2 separate regions of the Homo sapiens genome follow, and region 2 is linked to region 1. The links are contacts of gene promoters, found by promoter capture Hi-C in human tissues and cell types (Jung and others, 2019). All regions are on one chromosome and are shown on one strand. Each heading gives the region's core, a stretch centred on a gene start or on the middle of the fragment in contact. The rest is flanking DNA. Distances are from core to core; before and after follow the strand shown. Region 1 holds the start of OR6V1 (olfactory receptor family 6 subfamily V member 1). Region 2 has its middle 33 kb from the start of PIP.

Region 1 (6,985 bases), core at 2,407-4,906:
TCTGAGTTGCTGCAAAGGACATGCCCTCACTCTTTTTTATGGCTGCATAGTATTCCATAGTGTATATGTACCACATTTTCTTTATCCAGTCCACCATTGATGGGCATCTAGGTTGCTTCTATGCCTTTGATATTGAAACACAAATCTTTAAAAGTAACATTGAATCTATACTTGCTTTCTGCCAATATGTGTTTCTTTCAAGTGATGGATACTAAATGTGCAATTACTGTGAGGAAGGGGTTACTAGAATTGTTGCCATTACAAATCTACAAACTTGTAGAATCTTGATAGATATGTGCTCAGTAAGGGTCTAGAGGAGGCAAAACTGAGCAGCTTCAGATCCTGGAGGTTCCAACTTTGAATTAACCCAACTTTTAATTCAGATGGAAGAAGAAAATTCCAAAGATGGGGAGATGGAAAAAAAGGTTTGAAGAACCAGATCCTGCTGTCGGTTCTGCAATTTCTTTGACCAACTCATTCTTCCTCTCAGCCATGTTTCCCTTACCCGCTAAAGCGGGTCGGGAACACCGCTTGCTGCAGTTTCAGAATCAGAAATTTTCCTTCCGAGCTCTCATACTCTATAGGAAAACACCTTATTGAAATTAACCACACTTTTAAATTTCTCTCAGTACATGGAACCCCTTGAGGTCAGACTCCTCATTTCTTTCATCTTTAACAGCCACTGCTGAGTGGAGTGTTTTGCTCATGATGGGTGATCAGTGAATATTTATTTAACTGAATTACTATGAGGGTAAAACCAAATGGAAAATATATGTAAAAGTGGTTCATAAAGTATGAAAAGTATACAAAAGTAAGATATTGTTAGTAGAATTATTCTTAATTTACTCATCCTTCTTTCATTTACTCTACAAATACTTTTCTAGGTAGCAAGCAGAGAATAAACAGAGGAAAAAAACATCAATTCATTCAATAGCAACTGCAAACAACAGAATCATTGCTCTGTTATGTAATTAAAGAACAAGCAAAATTTTGGTCCAGAAACTGAAACTGGGAATGTGAAAAGACCCTCCGACTTGGCTAAGGGGTATCTCAGCAAGAAAGAAAGACACTTTCAGAAAGCCAGAGAAAGGGATGCCTCGTTTAGGAAGGAGTTAGCTTGGGGTAAGAGGAGGTCACAAGGAGAACCAATGGGTTGGTAAGCAAGCTGCATCTCTCAAGCTCCAAATGAGCTTACCTCATTCATTTCCACATAGTGGATTTTTTAAATGCTTGACATTTGTGATAAATTAGTAGTTTTATTGTTTTCAAGTAAGTGTAGCTACGAATAAACTCCTGGTTGTAGTTTATATATCACAAATTGGGATATGGAGTTTGGTAAATTAAAGTGTACTTACAGAAACAGTGTGTCAAAACAACTTAAATTGGGGCTACTTTAGAAAATTCTGCATGGGCAAAAGCTAAGGGAACACCATGATCCTGAGGTCAAAGTAACTGGAAGATTTTAAAAATTTCAGGCTATAGTTGGAGGAGGGAGGACAGTGGAGCTGATGTTTAACTCCAAAGGCAGCATGGGACATAATAGATTTTCAAGAATTTTATACCCACACGTATGTGAATGTAATATAATGTTCATATTTTATGTAATGTACAATATAATATGTATGTGTGTAAAATAGGATATATAATCACTGAATAAGTGAACTTACTAGGTTTATTACAATCCCTTGCCTTTAGGCAAATGAATGTTTCTAATCATACAGGAGCAAAGTTTATTTTGTCTTTCTAAAACTCTGAATATTTCCTCTCTGGAAACCACATAATTCCTCACTAGCGGAGATTTATCTTGTTTTAATTTCTCTCTGTTTCATCTTTCTCTGATGCAAAGGTACCTGATGAATTGCACTCTCACAGTGTCCACCTTATAGTCAATGTGCTACTCAGGTGTCATCTTGTCAGGAAGCCGTCGCTGAGCCTCCTCCTGGTCTCAGTGTTGCTCCCCTGTGTGCTCATAATACCGTCTGTGAATCCACTGTTGCACGTTCCCCACTGTGCTGGAAACAGCTATTTATCACTTTTTCCTTCCTTAGGCCAAGAGCTTTGTCAGGTTAAGAACCATTTATGCCTTTTTTACCTTTCTACCCTCTACCTGTTACAGTGCCTGACACACACAGCCTACTCAATGTTGAAGAAATGAATGAATAAATGGATGAATAATTATACAAGGACCCAGTCCTCCTCCCAACACTCACACACACATTGAAAAACAATCAGTTTGTTTTTGGTAAGTTTTGCTTCTTCTCTTGATCCCATGTAGCCCAAGCACTTATGGTGCATACACTCAGCAGCAGTGCATACTGTGATAGAGAAGCACACCCGGAACATGCACACGCATACACACATATGTACACACATACACACCCATGCACACATACTGGGATTGGACACTACCTCTTGATCATAGAGCACTTCTTGGCTGCTCTTCCTTAAATGCAAAGCACATGCACTTCCCTTTACTGAAAGCTCTGGGCTACTCTCAGAGTTCTTACGGCTGCCAGGGGATGTAGGGAACTCTTCCATGGTGGTCCATAAGAGCTTTGGGCCAGACAGTGCAGCACTCAGGGCTCACTGTAGTTATTGCTCAGAGGGAAAAAAACTAAAGAAACTCAGCAGTGTTCTTCCCACTTGCTGGAGGTCTCCCTCCCCACAGAACTGCTCAATGGAGGCAGGCCAGGTTCCCCTGGGCCCTGGGCTCATCATTGTGCCTTGCAAAGGCCTTTCAGCCTCTGCATCTGCCCCTGTAGCACTGTTTTAACTGTCTGATTGCAGAAGGTAAGGATAAAGGGATTGAGAAAGGGGGTGAGAACTGAAGTCACCAAGGCCACGACCTTCCTGACTTGCACAGAGTGAGCTTTGCCAGGCCTGACATACAGAAAGATGGTACTACTGTAGCCGATGAAGACCAGTGTGAGGTGAGACCCGCAAGTGGAGAAAGCCTTCTGGCAGCTGCTGGCAGAGGGGATCCGCAGCACAGTGGTCACTATGTAGCCATAGGAGATGAGGGTCACCAGGAAGGAGCTGAGGACAAAGGTCAAGGCCATCAGAAAGTCCCAGAATTCCAACAGGCGAGTGTCAGAGCATGACAACTGCAGGAGAGGTTCATTGTCACAGAAGAAGTGGTTGATGACGTCGCCATGGCAGTAATCAAGATGAGCTCGGGAGAGGACAGTGGGTACCATGGCTAGGAAAGGAGCTGCCCAGGCAGCCCCAGCCAGCTGGACACACATAGCCCGGCTCATCAGAGTGCCATAGCGCAGTGGGTGGCAGATGGCCACAAAGCGATCAAGGGCCATGTCTGTCAGGATGAGGAAGGAGGTGGACCCCAGGGAAAAGTGGAAGTAGAACTGGACCATGCAGCCAGTGAAGGTAATGACTTTGTGGGGGACCAACAGGTCTGAGAGCATCCTGGGCACTGCAGTCATGGTTACCAAGATCTCCAGCAGGGAAAAATTGCCCAGGAAGAAGTACATGGGTGTATGTAGGTGGGTGTCAGCTATGACCATAACTATGATGATGGTGTTTCCCATGAAGGCGAGAAGATAAAGCATGAGGAAGGGGCCATACAGAAGGGCCTGCAGCTCACCAAAGGAGGAGAAGCCCAAGAGGACAAATTCGGAGGGCTGGCTCAGATTTGCCATGATCCACAGTATGGGGCCCTGCATGCAAGAGAAACAAAAGACAGACGGAGAGGCAGAAACAGAGAGATAGAGACAGAGAACCATTGAACTTGAAACAGAAGAAACAGGGACAGAGACAGAGAATAGAGAGAGAAAGGCAAGTAGCCAGCGAGTGATAAACAGAAAAGCAGAAAGAAACGGCAATAAAGAAAGATAACAAAACAGGAATGGGAGAGTCAAGGAGAAACAGAGTGAGGGTATGAGAGAAGTGAAAGACATAGAAAGCCATTATTAAGAAGAGAGAAGGCTGGGGATGGTGGTTCATGCCTGTAATCCCAGCACTTTGGGAGGCCGAGGCAGGGGGAACACTTGAGGTCAGGAGTTCAAGACCAGCCTGGCCAACATGGTGAAACCCTGTCTCTACTAAAAATACAAAAATAAGCCAGGTGCAGGCAACTGTAATCTCAGCTACCTGCAAAACTGAGGCATGAGAATCGCTTGAACCTGGGAGGTGGAGGTTGCAGTGAGCCGAAATCGTGCCACTGCACTCCAGCCTGGGTGACAGAGTGAGACTCCATCTCAAAAAAGAAAAAAAAAAAGGGGGGGAAGAAAGAAAAACAGAGGAAAAGATTAAGGAAGACCACATGGCAACAGACATTGACATTTAGGGAGAAAACAAGAAGGAAACAACAGAGGACCAGAGAAAGAACAGAAAAAATTCAAATAGAGAAATACAGGAAGGGGAGGAACACAGAAAAAGAGAGGGAGAGAGAGCATTAGTGCATGTGACCCAGAAGCCCCCAAATGTAGGCTAATCCGTCTATGTCACACCCAGAGGTTGTGCCCCAAGACCCTTTTTAAAGGGTCCCTGCAAACCTTTCTGAGCTGCCTCTCTGAGGACCCTCGCTTGTGCACATTTCTCCGGCTATGATCATGAAATTAGTGAAAGTCAGAGTTTTGAGTCCAGAAATTAACTTCCTTTAGAGGAGACCTCTGCTTCGTGTTTGCAAAGATGGAGAGCAGAAAGGGTGCAGCAGGTCAGGGAGCGAGCCTGGAAATCCAAGTGGCTGCTCTCCCAGGACACACACAGTCATCAGGCTTCCCAACGGCATAATCTGTCTACCCAAGGGTGCTGCTTTGCCGTCTCCATTGCACTTCCCCTCCCGCCGTGGTGCAAAGTGTAAGCTATGGAGTTGGCTTGCCTGTGTTTGAATTCTGGCTCTAGACTTGCTTGTCACGGGCCGTAAATCTGCTCTTCTTTGTTACTTACTCTCTCTGAGCCCGTTTATTCAGCTGTAAAATAATGGTATTACTGGTACTTAGCCTCTATGGTGATTATAAAATTAAATAAGTAAACTACTTAGTGCAGTGACTAGCACATACTAGCCAACAAATCGTTGTTGTTATTGTTATCACTGTTCTTATTGTTAGACCGTCAATAGAACTCAAATTTTTTTTGCCCATCATCTCTCTACACTTCTTCTCATTGCCAGCATGTGTGTGTGTGAAGATCTTTACAGCTTTACACTGTTTCTTGGAATTTCAGTTCACTAAAAGGGTACTTTAAAACATTTCAAACACAAACAAAGTATTTACAACACAAACTGTCAGGAGTGGAAGGAGTGAAGCTGTGTGTAGATATACTCTGGCCCTTTCTCCAGCCCCATAAATGCTTCATTTGGGGTTGTGTCCTGGCCACACAGCAATGACATTCTAATTTTAAAAAGCCTTGCACCCGGCCAGGCGCGGTAGCTCACGCTTGTAATCCCAGCTGTTTGGCAGGCTGAGGTGGGCGGATCACGAGGTCAGGAGTTCAAGACCAGCCTGGCCAACACAGTGAAACCCCGTCTCTACTAAAAATACAAAAATTAGCTGGGCATGGTGGCGGGCACTTGTAATCCCAGCTACTTGGGAGGCTGAGGTAGGAGAATCACTTGAACCTGGGATGTGGGATTGCAGTGAGCTGAGATCATGCCAATACACTCCAGCCTGGATGACAAAGCTAGACTCCATCTCAAAAACAATAAAAAATAAATAAATAAATAAATAAATAAATAAATAAATAAATAAAGCCTTGCACCCATGCCACTGGCAAGCCTTAACGGTAGGTCTAAAATCCTAAAATCTACCCCAGCACTGACTAAATTCAAACCCAGTCCTTATGTTTGTGTTGCATGAGAACCTGACTGACATACAGACTTCCCCCCCTCACCTTAGCCTCCAAGCCTGTTGTCTTCTTTGTAAGCTGCTCTCACTTAGGCATTCATACCTGGAGACACCTGCCTACTGGCCTCACTCTATAACATGAATGACATCAGAGATGCAGTCTCTTTCCCTTGGGTTGTGTCTTGCGGCTGGAAAGGGTGGAAAGGGGCTTTGTGCACAGCTTGGAAGAGGTGGCACTGCTGGGTGAGCTAAAACTCTGCCAGTCCTTATGCTGATTTTCTAATTCAGCACCTACCCTGTGTCACTACAAAGCCAGGGGCAGCAGCATTGATGTGGGGCTGGGAGATGGGAAATAAGTCCCTCAGGAGACCAGAGGGGAAAGGTGCTGATTCTGTCCATTCTCTCTCAAGGATGAGTGTTTTCAGCTCTTTCTCTCATCCACATCTCCAAGTCCTTCGTGTCTTGATGATGTTTACAGTTCAGCTTATGCTGGATGGGAAACTTAGACTCCAGCAGAGTGTTTTCTGTGGGAATGACAGGAAGCCAAGGAGCCCTCTGGGGACTTCTGAGGCACTGACGTTGCTCCTTAGAATAATGAGATGTCCTCTGTTTTGAGGAAGTAACATTTGAGAAAAAGATCTGAATAAAGAAATGGATAAAGACCCAGATACACCCAAGCAGCTGACGGCTTAGGATCAGCACCTCGGCAGTGCCTGTCTCCTGGCCCTTCCCCTCCTCCCAGGACCATGGAAAAAATATGAGATCATGGAAAAAACACAAAGGAATTTTCCCAGCTGGACTAAAATTATGACAGCCTGGGTACCTAGCCAGGGCTGGATCCAGAGTTTCCATTTGCAGACAAAATCTCCAAGTGGATCCAGGGTTTAGGGATCTAGGGAGGCAGGGAATGGAGGCCCTGGACCATAGCAGCCTCTTGTTAAAATTCTCCAAAGAAAGTATCATTTGGAGAAGTCTGGGAATCAAACAGATATCTGCCTCCAGAGGCAGGGCCCTTGGTGGACACATCTTGGGATCTGGCTCCTGTGAGAAGATACACACCCTGGGGACAAAGGTAAAGGGAATATGGGGAGGCCACTCCAAGCTTCCAGCTCCCTAGTAAACTCTGAGTCACAGTCTTTCATCTCAGAGACATTTAAACCTTATGCATGATACCCAGTGCAACC
Region 2 (6,985 bases), core at 1,972-4,471, 47 kb before region 1:
AACACTTTTTTATTATTCAGTTTCTTTTCTACATTAGCTTTGATGTTATACAATCTATAAATATTTTTTGTGGTTATCCTAGAAATTTTATCCTACATACAGATGTAACATGAAAGTCTAATATTAATTATATCAACTCTTTCTGAACAATACAAAGCCTTAGATAATTTTATTTTATCCTTGTCTCCAACTTTGTATGTTATTGCTGCTATGTATTTTAATTCTCCCTACATATTTTTAAATAATTTGTTGGTAAATATTTTTATTGAGGTATAACATACATAAAATACCCAGATTTTAAGTTGACCTTGATACATTTTTACAAAGGAGTAACCCTCTGAAACTACCAAGCAAATTAAAATATAGATAATTTATTGTACACTAGAAGCTCTCCTTGTGCTCTGTTATGGTCTTAATATGTCTCCCAAATTCATATTTTGAAATTTAATCACTAAAGTGATAGTATTAAGAGGTAGGGCCTTTGGGAGGTGATTACATCATAAGGTTGAAATCCTCATAAATAGTATTAATGCCCTTATAAAAGAGGCTTCAGAAAACTGCCTAACATTTTTCCTTTTCTCTCTGTCATGTGAGCATGTAGCATTCACTCCTTTTACCCTTTCACTCTTCTGCCATGTGAGAACACAGCAACAAGATACCATCTTGGAAGCAGAGAGTAAGCCTTCACCAGCCACGGAATATGCTACTGCCTTGGCCTTGGGCTTCCCAGGCTCCAGAGCTGTGAGAAATAAATTTCTATTGTTTATAAATTACCAAGTATCTGGTATTTTCTAAGAGCAGGAAGAATAGACTAAGATGACCTCTTTGTGTCAATACCCCATAAGGTTAAGCGGTGATTCTAATTTCTCTCATCAAAGACTATTATTTTCTTTTATTGAACTTCATATAAATAGAATCATAATATACCTACTTCCTGGTTTCTAGCTTCTTTCTGTGAACATTATTTTTATGGGATTTACCTAGGCTGTTGCACTTAGCAGTAACTAAATATTTTTCACTGATGTTTAGTACTATATTATCTAAATGTACCATTCTTTATTTTAGCATTATAGTTTTTGCTATTTTGAATAAACCTGTTAAGATTTTTTTGTACATGTCTTTTGGTACAAATATCCGCTAATTTAATTTGGGTCTGTACAGTCAGTTCTCCTATAATGTGCCATATATGTTCCTAAAAATCACTGCAATATGCAAAATTGTACAATAAAAACTGAGTTATGAGAAAAATGGGATTAATGGTATAACACTCAAGTACATTGTCAGTGATAAATAAAGAGGTAAACAAAAGGAATAGTACACTATTACACATATTTGATAGTTAAAACATACATAAATACTACAATAATTATGAGAGTTTATATTGAAGAATACATGAAATTTCCTTGTGGAAATAGGTGTCAGGAGGTAGCAGCATGTGGGATACTGTGAAGTAGTAGAAGGAGAGTTATCAGACATCAGACAGAAGGCTATAACACCAGGTGTGGATGGGCAGGATTCATTGTCTTTGGCTGGATTTGTTGACTCTTGATCTTTTGCAATTCTTAAATACTTGGGCATTTTTTTCTTGCCTTTGGGTTGTAGGTACTTTGAGATTTTTAATGCGTGTCTGTTTTTTCAAAATTGCCATTTTTGAACCAATGTGTAGCTATCTTCTTCAATTAATTTTAATATCACTGCTGAAAATTCTTTTGTGGCTTTCTCATTTGAACTTATGGTGTCATCTGATGGCCGAAGGCTTTGGAGATTGTAGTGATGTTTGAAACCACTGAATTAGCCATTAATAACACTGAAGGGAGCCATTTCTACAGGATTGGGTAATTTCTGTTTAAAGTCTTCACATACAAATAGTATGCCCTTTTTTTCCATTTTCCCTGCTGGTGTTTTGAACCAGGACACTTAAACATGTTTGGGATATTGAAAGAGTGTTTGCTTATATACAGTAGTTTTCAAATGTAACAAGACAATAAACAAACCCTTGAGATCAATACACTCAGTGTACCGAGATAGCTTTTAGATGTTTGAGGTATATGAGTGTGTTTTGTGTATTCTTATGTGAATTGGTTTAACTTGGTACAGTTTCTATTTCACTTTGTGCTTCTTGCTGCTGAAACTGCCTGTAAGAAAATATGAAATTCTCATTATGCTCAAATTTTCTCTCAATAAATTGATTGCACTGAAAAATATTTGACTTTTCAAAAAAGTATTATACTTTTCAAAAGAAGATAGACATGTGACCAAGTAGCATATGAAGAAAAGCTCAGTATCACTGATCATTAGAGAATGCAAATCATCTCACACCAGTCAGAATGGCTATTATTAAAAGGTCAAAAAATAACAGATGCTAGTGATGCTGTGGTGAAAAGGAATGCTTGTATACTGTTGATATGAGTGTAAATTAGTTCCACCATTGTGGAAAGCAGTGTGGTGACTCCTCAAAGAGCTAAAAACAGAACTACCATTCAACCCAGCAATCTCATTCCTTTGGGTATATACCCAAACGAATAGAAATCATTTTACCATAAACACATATGCAGGTGAATGTTCACTGTGGCACTGTTCACTATAGCAAAGACATAGAATCAAGCTAAATGCCCATCAATGACAGATTGGATAAAGAAAATGTGGTACTTATACACCATGGAGTACTATGCAGCCATAAAAAAGAACAAGATCATGTCTTATGAGAACACAGATGAAGTTGAAGTCCATTGTCCTTAGCAGACCAACACAGGAACAGAAAACCAAACATCCCATATTCTCAGCCTTTTTTTTTTTTTTGACAGAGTTTTGCTCTTGTTGCCCAGGCTGGAGTGCAATGGCATGATCTTGGTTCACTGCAACCTCTGCCTCCCAGTTTCAAGTGATTCTCCTGCCTCAGCCTCCCGAGTAGCTGGGAGCTACCACCATGCCCAGCTAATTTTTGTATTTTTAGTAGAGATGGTGTTTCACCATGTTGGCCAGGCTGGTCTCGAACTCCTGACCTCAGGTGATCCACCCACCTCAGCCTTCCAAAGTGTTGGGATTACAGGTGTGAGTCACCATGCTGGCATATTCTCATTTATAAGTGGGAGCTAAATAATGAAACTCATGACACAAAGAGGGGAACAACAGACACTGAGGCCTACTTAAGGGCGAAGGGTGGGAGAAGGGAGAGGATTAGAAAAAATAACTATTGAGTACTAGGCTTAGTATAGGAGTCCCTATACTGCTGTCAGAAAATTTCTCAGCAAAAGTTTTACAGTCCAGGAGAGAGTAGGATGATGTATTCAAAATGGTAAAAGCAAAAAAAAAAGGACTGCCAACCAAAAATACTTTACCTAGCAAAGCTTTCTTTCAGACATGAGGGAGAAATAAAAACTTTTCCTGACAAATAAAAGCTAAGGGATTTTATTACCACTAGGCCTGTCTTACAGGAATTGCTAAAGGGAGTTCTTTAAGCTGAAACTAAAGGCTGCTAAGGAATGACATAAGATGTATAAAAGTACAAAACTTGATGATACATTAATATATAGTGATACTCAGAATACTCTAATACTATAAATGTGGTGAATTCAGAAATTTTATCTGTAGTATTATGGTTAAAAAACAAAATTATTAAAAACAACTGCAGGTACAATAAATTGTTAGGGGATAAAAATTACAAAAAGATGTTAATTTTGTCATCAATGTCATAAAAGGTGGGAGGGGCTGTAAATGTAGAGTTTTTGTATGTGATTAAAGTTAAGTTGTTATTAGCTTAAAATAGCTTGTTATTAAGTATACAATGTTTTACATAAGCCTCAAGGTAGCCACAAAGCAAAACTCTATAGTAGTTACACAAAATATAAAAAGAAAGAATTCAAAGCATATCACTACAGAAAACCATCAAACCATAGTGAAAGACAGCAAGTGAGAAAAAGGCAAAATATCCACAAAATACCCAGAAAACAAATTACAAAATGGGAGTAGAAAGTTCTTACCTATCAATTACTATATTAAATGTAAATAGATTAAATTCTCAAATTAAAAGACATAAATGTGGCTGAATGGCTTAAAACAAACAGAAAAAGATCTTAGTATAGACTACTTATAAATGACTCTCTTTATTAGTAAGGACACAAAGAGAGTAAAATTCAAGGGATGGAAGAAGATATTTTACACAAACGGAAACCAAAAAAGACCAGGGAGAGCTATGCTCATATCAAGAAAATAGTCCTTAAGTCAAAAACCTTAAAAAGGAGACAAAGAAGGTCATATATAATAATAAAGGGATAAATTCATAAAGAGGACATAACAACTGTAAATACATATAAACCCCAAATTGGAGCATGTAATGTATTATGAAACTATTAAGTAATCTAAAGGGAGAAATGTACACTAATACCATAATATTAGGGAAACACAATGCCCCACTTTCAAGAACAGACAAATCATTTAAACAGAAAATCAATAGGGAAACATTGGACTTGAATTACACATTTGACCAAATAAACCAGACAAACAGAACATTGTATCCAAGTGTAACAGAATTCACAGTTGTCTCAAGTGGACATGGGACATTCTCTAAGATAGATCATATGTTAGGCCAAAAACAAACCAACAAACAAAAAACAAGTCTTAACAGATTTAAGAAAATTGAAATCATATCAAGTATCTTCTCCAATTACAATGGCATAAAACTAGAAATCAATAACAGGAGAGATCTTGGAAAATTCTACAAAGTGTGGAAATTAAATAAAATGCCTTGAAATAATCAAGAGGTCACAGAAGAAATTAAGAGGGAGATTAATAATCTTACAAACAAAAATGGAAATACAATATACCAAAACTTATGGGATGCAGCAAAGCAGTTCTGAGAGGGAAGTTAATAGCAAACCCTATAGAGAAAGACATTTGGGACAGGCCATCCAAGAGGCAGAGATAGCTTTATGTTCCTCCATGAATTGCAAAGAAATATGCTCCACCTCCTTTTTTTACAATGAGATAGAAGCCACAAGTGTGATCTTGAGCATGGAGTTCGATGGGGGAGATGGAGAAGTAGAGCCTAGTGGACTGTGAAATTAAAGCTATGCACCCAGTTTACAACACAGCTGTTGAGGAAGGATGAGACAGAGTTTCTGTTCTTGGGTAAGGCTGTAGGGCAGGGGGTTATCTGAACAGCTCTGCACACACACACAATCACATGTACAGTTTTGCACACACAGTCACACACACAGATAGAGAATTAGACCACTTTGTGGGGGGTGGGGGGAAGGGGGGCTTCCTATACCTCATGTACACTGTGCTTTCCATGTTCATATGGTTATGTCTATGTATCACAAAATCCCTGAGATACATATTATTAAACCAATGTTATGGAGAGAGAACTAAGGATCATAGAAACTAATTAATGTACCTAAGGTTATACAGGAAGTAAGTGGCCAGGTTAAACTAGGTTTCTGTAGTTACAAAAGCCATCTACTTCTCATTACACCATGTTGCATCTCTCAATTTAAAATTACAGTTTAATTGTAGATCCTTGAGGAATTGCCACATTGTCTTCCACAATGGTTGAAGTAGTTTACAGTCCCACCAACAGTGTAAAAGTGTTCCTATTTCTTTGTAGGGACATGGATGAAGCTGGAAACCATCATTTTCAGAAAACTATCGCAAGGACAAAAAACCAACCACCACATGTTCTCACTCATCAGTGGGAGTTGAACAATGAGAACACTTGGACACAGGAAGGGGAACATCACACACCGGGGCCTGTCGTGGGGTGGGGGGAGCGGGGAGGGATAGCATTAGGAGATATACCTAATGTAAATGACAAGTTAATGGGTGCAGCACACCAACATGGCACATGTATACATATGTAACAAACTTGCACCTAGTGCACATGTACCCTATAACTTAAAAGTATAATAATTTAAAAAAAAATTTAAAATTTTAAAAATTTTAAAAATAAAATAAAATAAAATTACAGTTTAAGATTACAGCTCTGTGCGAAAAGTTTAGGACTATTTCCAACCTGGCAGCTCAGTTAAGTACAAGAAGATGAACCAGTCTGCATTGCCCAGTGGAATTTCCAAAGGAACCAGGAGGAAGAGGTGGTTTGTGAGCCTCTTCAGGCCAGCTGGCAGAAGGTCCCAACACGCCCTCTTAGCCTTTCAAGATGTCCTTTTAGACAGATTTTTCTTCTGCAGGAAAAGTCAACAGTAGCTGCACAATGGCAAATGTCATGAATGTGCCCTCAGGACAGGAGACAGATTGTTCTTCCTGGTTTTATAGGCAAAATAATGTGCTTGTGTCAGGGATCAATTTAATCCACCTATCTTCACTTGCTTGCCATTTCAACCTCTTAAATACTGTGAAATAGTTGTCACTGAATCTCCATTTGCCAGTTTGGCACTACCCTGATCCAAGTACCCTGCCCTTGCACTCCAACCCTGTATTCAGTCTTGTAGTATCTCTAGGGAGTGACCCCAGACACATTCCCTGGGTAAATTTTCAGGGCTCCAATTCCATTGGTGAATGGTCGTTGATAGAAAGCCCCATGTGAACCAAGAACTTCATCTGTCTGGATTGTACACACAGAAATCTCACCCACGCTTTTCATGTAAATGTCTGCCTCCCAGCCCTGGACACATTTTGAGATAATTTAGATAAATAATTGATATCACACCTTGGCATTTCTGCCCACTTTCTGCATTCCACCGTCTTGAGGATGACTACCTTATCCTGGTTTGCCCAGAACTTTCTGAGTTTTGGCACTGAAAGTCTTCTATCCTGGGAGACTCCTCAGCTCTGGACAAATCAAGGTAATAGACCATTGCAATTACTATTTTGTCTCGGATTCTAGCTCACAAAGTGCTTCAGCACTCAGGTTAATTTCTAGGGGCCTTGTTCCATTGTGATATTTCTTTAACACTTTATTTATTTATTTATTTTTCCATAAGTTATTGGGGTACACATGGTATTTGGTTATATGAATAAGTTCTTTAGT

What was found. Contacts are between HindIII fragments. The study calls those that stand out against the background at their distance.
Region 2: a contact is called between a fragment that was not itself captured here and the fragment with the promoter of OR6V1 in region 1, in 1 of the 25 tissues and cell types used here (neural progenitor cells).

The regions. Positions count from the first base shown.
Region 1 is chr7:143,049,012-143,055,996 of GRCh38, reverse strand. It overlaps OR6V1 (olfactory receptor family 6 subfamily V member 1), which reads right to left and starts at 3,656. Exons shown (of 1, transcript NM_001001667.1): 1 at 2,715-3,656. The coding sequence starts at 3,656. The coding sequence ends at 2,715. RefSeq lists an enhancer at 6,262-6,985. The HindIII fragment of the contact is 14,465 bases long and covers 1-6,985 here.
Region 2 is chr7:143,095,479-143,102,463 of GRCh38, reverse strand. No RefSeq gene overlaps it. Among named protein-coding and RNA genes, the nearest start is that of PIP, 33 kb to the left of the region's middle. The HindIII fragment of the contact is 4,523 bases long and covers 960-5,482 here.